Linked DNA regions of Homo sapiens: region 1 is linked to region 2. Evidence: promoter capture Hi-C in 16 types of primary human blood cells and fetal thymus (Javierre and others, 2016). All regions are on one chromosome and are shown on one strand. Each heading gives the region's core, a stretch centred on a gene start or on the middle of the fragment in contact. The rest is flanking DNA. Distances are from core to core; before and after follow the strand shown.

Region 1 (3,346 bases), core at 13-2,512, 42 kb before region 2:
CAAGTTCACATCCTGTCGTATAAAGATGTCAAGGTCTGATAAGTGTGGATCAGAAGTGGAAGCAATAGATAGTAATAGAATTTTAGACATTTTAATGACAGCTGACCTGACTGTTTTATGATACTTAAATTCTAGAACTGGCAGTGCTTCTGTGAAAAAACTCAGAAATTCTGGCCTGGGAAGACTGCTTGCCTAAGGACCCCTTCCACAATTACAACCAAATATTACTCAATATCAACCTTTGGGATACGTAAGAAGAGGGGATTTTCTGATTCAATATTTCTGTTTGGGAATTTAAACAGACACATAATGCAATGGCTAGATCTGAAGGTAAAAACAGGGCTCCCTGGATTTCAATGATTTCAGTGCTCAGAGAGGCACCGAAACACAAGGGTGGGCCCCCAGTAGCCATGTCTATAATACGGGACCCAGGTCTTGGTATCTGCTGGCTGACAGGGGTGGGAAACATCTGGCCCAAACAGATATTCATGAAACGTATATGGAGAGCCAAGGCCACCCAAGACTGGGAGGGCTGGGCTACCTGAGATGGGATGCAGAAGGCCCACCAGCTTGGAACACTGACACCCCAGGTGGCCCTGGCTCTTGCCCTCTTGGCATCTCTCTGAACGATGAGCCAGTCATAAGTTTCTTTGCGTGGTTGTTCAGAGTCCATTTCCAATGTTGCCAACAGAGGACTTAAATCAGACAGGCTAGATCCTGACTGGATAAAGCCACCTGGAGCCCTAAAACACCCTCCTGCAAATATCAGCCTGGCAAAACTAGCAAGAACATGCTTCAAACATAACCCAGATAACACTTTATGCTACTTAACAACTTAATCTGTTGAGAAAAAAATTTTTAATTTTTTAAAAATGAGAAAATATGAAGCTGGCCTTAAGCTTAGTTCTCAGGGCTGATAAGTTTTAAATTAGGATTTTTGGATCTGTCACCATGTTATTTCCTTTGAGGGAATCTGAAAGCTCAGACTTCTGCTCACTGAGTTCACTTCACTATGATGATTTCAACACACTCACTTTCTATAAACAGATGAACTGCTTTGTTGGACTGAGTAGGGCTCAGAAAAGGGAAGACGCTTTCCCAGTATAGCAATGCACCCTCTCTCCGAGTGGCGGCCCAGACCTTTACTCAACGACAGTGTCTACTTCAGCTTTTCAGCAGGTATAACTTAAGGAAGGACCATAAACATCACCTATTTCATCTTCAAAAATTACCAGCCCCCATCTTCTACCCACCCCAGTCATCAGCCCAATAATTTTCTGGACAATTCTTCAAAAGCCAATACCAGTTTTCATCTTAATCTGGTATTTCGTAAGAGGAGCAAGGATGTTTCAGGTTCCCTGGGTAAGGAGGAAGTGGGATCAAAAAGGAACGTACATCCACAACAGATTGTGAATCCCCAGAGCACAAAGGCAAAGATCAAAAAGATGATAGGGGAGGATGTGTGGGCTCAGCGGCTGAGAAGAAAGCAGAGGTCACAAGATGGGATCTGTTGCTGTGAGTGCCCAAGGCCCCCTGCCCTCTCCCTACCACAGCACCCACCACGCGGCATGAACATTTAGGCTACCTTCAAACTCTTGAGTTCCGGTAAGGAAGAGAAAAGTCCCGCAAGCTTCACTGCTTCCTGAAAGCTTGGCACAGTGCCTAGCAATAGTAGGTTCTTAATAAGTGGTTTTGGATCAATGAATGGACCAATGAATAAATGAATGAATGAATGCAAGACCTAGTGAACAGAATCAGCAAGGAGAGGGAGAAATATACACAGTGTTGCGTTTTATCTCACTGACTTAGAGTAAAATTCAAGAGGTAAGTGAAGATACATATAACCATGCACTGGAAAAAAAAAAAAAAAACAGGCTGGGTGCGGTGGCTCACGACTGTAATCCCAGCACTTTGGGAGGCCGAGGCGGGGGGTGGATCACCTGAGGTCAGGGGTTTGAGACCAGCCTGGCCAACATGGTGAAACTCTCTACTAAAAACACAAAAATTAGCCAGGCATGGTGGTGGGCACCTGTAATCCCAGCTACTCAGGAGGCCGAGACACGAGAATCGCTTGAACCCAGGAGGTGGAGGTTGCAGTGAGCCAAGATCGCGCCACTGCATTACAGCCTGGGCGACAGAGTGAAACTCCATATCAAAAACAAAACAAAACAAAAAAACAAAAACAAAGAAAAGAAATCCATGGTGGAAGTTAACCCAAAGTCCCAAAAGCAATGCCCATGTGTTCAGACCAATACTTTCCTCCAGAAGCTGCTGAAGACCTCACAGAGAAAAACTTGCATAAATCTAGTCTATGTCAGTGACAAAAATGACACCGCCTCAGGATGGGTAAATCTAAAAATATCCCCGTGAGAACAAATGACAGCCAAGTAGATCATTCTGGAGAATACTGAGCAGCGCAGCAGCAACTCGCGGCAGAGACTGCTGGTCATCAGAGGAAGTCAGTGTGAAGTCAGCCGAGGCAGGGGCAAGGGTGCCGTAACTGCATTATTACAGAAAACAAAGTGAAACACAACCACAAAGTTATCCATCTTCTACTAGTCAGCTGACTTTTACGAAAATGCCCAATATAATTATGCTACAGAGCACAGCCTTTAAGGAAAATGGCTGGAAACAATAGTTTAATTTTCCTGTGCTCAATAATGTACCAGAACATTAATTTTCTTCAGAAATAGAACCTGGTACAGAGCAAGAAAAACTAGTGTTCAATTTTATCGTTAAATTTCAAAATAACATGTGTGGCTTAAGGAGATCCTAAAACGGTAAGCAGCACCCTCAAAAGGGGGCCCCAACTCCCTTCCTCAGCCCCGACAACATTCACATGGCCAAACTTGTTTCAAACTATCATAGCTCTGTAAAACTAAATGGTTCCTGTTCCCACATTTCTCTTTAATGCTTCTCCCTTCATTTCCCAAAATGAAAATAAAACCTTGTCATGAAACTTTCTGATAATTTAATTCTTGTCTGTTCCCATCAAGGCTAAAATATGCCCAGTTTTGACCTCTGTACATGAGGTGACAGATGCTGTTACAGGGAACATTTAACCTGACTGGCAAATAGAGAGAAATGCAATAAGTAAAATCATTAAGAACTGTAATCAGTTCAACATTCTGTTTATAATTAATAATGAAAGATATTAAACTATTACTTAAGTTAACCTTTGTGTAATGGTTATACCTATCAGCACAGAAAAAATTCCAGCTAAATGTTCATGCCAATTTAGCTATGAAGTTTTAAGATTACAAATAGCTGTACCTTGAACTATTCAAAATAGATTTTTCTTAAAACAAAAAAAAAAGCATACACTTTACAGGCAGGAAAATTAACC
Region 2 (2,945 bases), core at 151-2,650:
GGAAGAGCCGATGTTGGACGGCTATCACACGTGGCTTCACACTGTTCTTTTTCTTCTCTGGCTGGGTACGGCCTGAGGATGACTGCCCTCCAACAACTGAGGATGCTGCAGGAGGACCAGCCCAGCACCTGTCTCCATCCCCTGCACTGTGTGGCCGGCTCTGCCGCTTCTCCCCCGCTTCAGCATCACCTGCCACTTCTTCTCAATCTGAAGCCACTAAGAACGATCAACACCAGACCGTTAAAACATAAACCAGTATGGGCCACTAAATAATTCGTAAATATTTCAAAATGTATTTCAAAACCGACTTTGTATTGTCAAAACATTATAATCTAGCCAGGCCAAGTTTTAATAAACAGTAACACCCATCATCACTACTGGGTAAAGAACTTCATTCAACAGGACCTACCTTGACACCAAGTCTAGAGCCTCGTTTTCAATTAAAAAAAAAATGGGTAAGCCCCAAATGTGCATTAAAAATTAGTTTGGCCATTTACTAAGTAGTCCTTCAAAGCATTTCCAAGTATTCAGAGTTCCAGTACTTTTCGGAAAGGAAGGGTGATCTTTCTGGTACTGGTTTGCATAATTATGCCTAAAAAATGTCATCTTGAATTTTCAATGAAAAGAGTCTTAAAATGTTCAGGCGAGTGGAGAAAATGGTGATCCGCTGGCGTTAGAAGTGGACAGAGAGGCTCTCAGTACAAACTGTATCTGAACGTGTTCCTCACAAATTAAGATCTGCACCGGGGGCTGGGGGGCTTTGAGAAAACTAACCACATTTGAATCCGGTCCACACAGCTTGAAGGCGGAGGTACGGGGCAAAGCGCGGCGGGGAAGAAACACCAGCAACTCGGCGGCCCCCGCCTCGCCGCAGATCACGTGCCCGGCGCCCCCTCCCGCAGGGCCGGGGGCGGGATGGAGACGCGGCCTCCCGCGCGCCTTCCGCACTCCCCTCCGCGCCCCAAACCCAGGGGTAGGGGTGGTCTCGGGTAACCATCCCCAGGGCGGCGGCGAGGGAACTGCGCGGGTTCAGAGTCCTCAGCAGCCACCACTGACGCCCCGACGCCCCCGGCTCCCCGCGCACCCCGCCGGTCCGTCCTGCGGCGGCGGCGGTAGGGGCCGCGTCTACGTGGCGCGGTCGCGGCGAGGCGGGGACTGGGACGCGAGGACCGGGAAGCGGGGACCGCGGCGCGAGGAGGGGCGGCTCAACCCGCGCCGCCCCGGAGGGTCCCGGCCTCCGGCAGGACAGCCCCGGGCCCGCGCCAAGGGAAGCCCCCAGGCGCAGACACTCACCGCCAGCCCCGGAGGGACGCCTGCGAGGAGCCCGGCCCGCGCCCACTTACCCACAGGGGCTCCGCTCCCGGCCAGCGGGCGGCTGAGGGCAGGCGGCGGCTGGACTGCGACGGCTAGGACCCGCCGGGGAGGGAAGCCGAGGGGGCGGGGCCGGTCGGGGGCGCGCGCGGGGTCGGAGCGCCCGCAGCCGCCGCTGCCTTGGAAGCCGCCTGGGCCGCAGCTGAGTCGGGCGGCCCTCATGAATGGGACGCCGCGGCTGCGGCGGCCGAGCCGGCAGCTGGCGGGCGGGCAGCGCGCAGGCCCCGCCCCAGCCACGTGACGCGCGCTCCCGGCCGCGCGCCGCGCCCCCGCCGCCGAGCGCCAGGCGTGCGGCTTCTCACCGCTCCCAGTCCCTGGGCTGCGCGCCCGGGCCCCTGGCCAAGTGAGGGCGGGGCCTCGATTTTCTAGTGCCTCGGGCGACAGGAGCCTTACTTTGTTTTAAAAAAAAAAAGTTTCTTCCGGTCCCCATGGCAACCCTGCGGCAGGTCACGTGGGACTGAGAGCCCAATTGCCAAAAAGGAATGTTAAAGTGCAAAAAAAGTCTAGGGAATGAATGTTTTATAATCCCCTTTTGATCACTAGTAGCACATCTCCTTTGCTTACTTACATCTCCACCGAAAAAAAAAAAATCCTATTACACAACTCATTTTTAAAAATATGCCGGGGTTCTGTTGTTTTTTGTTTATTCTTTTTATCGCTCTGTTACCCCGGCTGGTCTCCAACTCCTGGGCTCAAGCATCCCCGCACCTCGGCCTCCCAAAGTACTGGAATTACAGGCATGAGCCACCGTCCCCAGCATTAAAATATACTTTTTAAGAAATGGGTGGCTCACGCCTGTAATCCTAGCACTTTGGAAGGCCGAGGCAGGCGGATCACTTGAGGTCAGGAGTTCAAGACCAGCCTGGCCAACATGGTGAAACCCCCGTCTCTACTAAAAATACAAAAAACCAGCCGGGCGTGGTGGCGCGTGCCTGTAATCCCAGCTTCTCAGGAGGCTGAGGCAGGAGAATCAGTTGAACCCGGGAGGCGGAGATTGCAGTGAGCCGAGATGGCGCTATTGCACTCCAGCCTGGCGACAGAGAGACTCCGTCTCAGAAAGAAAAGAAATGGGGCCCGGCGCGGTGGCTCACGCCGGTAATCCCAGCACTTTGGGAGGCCAAGGCGGGTCGATCGCCTGAGGTCAGGAGTTGGAGACTAGCCTGGCCAACGTGGCAAAACCCCGCCTCTACTAAAAATACAAAAATTAGCCGGGCATGTTGGCTGCAATCCCAGCTACTTAGGAGGCAGAGGCGGTAGAATCACTTGAACCCGGGGGGCGGAGGTTGCAGTGAGCAGAGATTGCGCCACTTCACTCCAGCCTGGGAGCGAAACTCTGTCTCAAAAAAAAAAAAAACAAAAAAAACTGGATTGCTGGTGCTATATACTATTGGTGCACACTGGTTTTTAATTTGCAGCCTATTCTATTACTATTCTATGATTGAAAGTAATGAACAGAAGCCTATGTTACTTCTATATAAATGGCAGTTAATTTATGAGGTGCATCTTGTGTGTGATCATTTATACAGTTCTAAGGGTACTGAAATAGGCATTTGCATACACAAAGCTGCTCCTTG

What was found. The method cuts DNA at HindIII sites, captures the fragments that hold promoters and counts their contacts. A CHiCAGO score of 5 or more calls a contact.
Region 1: a fragment that was not itself captured here is called in contact with the fragment with the promoter of LPIN2 in region 2 in 1 of 17 cell types (non-activated CD4 T cells); the score reaches 6.7 in non-activated CD4 T cells.

The regions. Positions count from the first base shown.
Region 1 is chr18:2,969,893-2,973,238 of GRCh38, forward strand. All of the region lies in intron 1 of LPIN2 (lipin 2), which reads right to left. LPIN2-AS2 (LPIN2 antisense RNA 2) reads left to right here. Exons shown (of 3, transcript XR_001753322.2): 3 at 136-217. Among named protein-coding and RNA genes, the nearest start is that of LPIN2-AS2, 4.6 kb to the left of the region's middle. RefSeq lists an enhancer at 2,710-2,859. The HindIII fragment of the contact is 731 bases long and covers 898-1,628 here.
Region 2 is chr18:3,011,744-3,014,688 of GRCh38, forward strand. LPIN2 (lipin 2) reads right to left here and starts at 1,401. Exons shown (of 20, transcript NM_001375808.2): 1 at 1,344-1,401. RefSeq lists a silencer at 842-1,791. The HindIII fragment of the contact is 8,581 bases long and covers 1-2,945 here.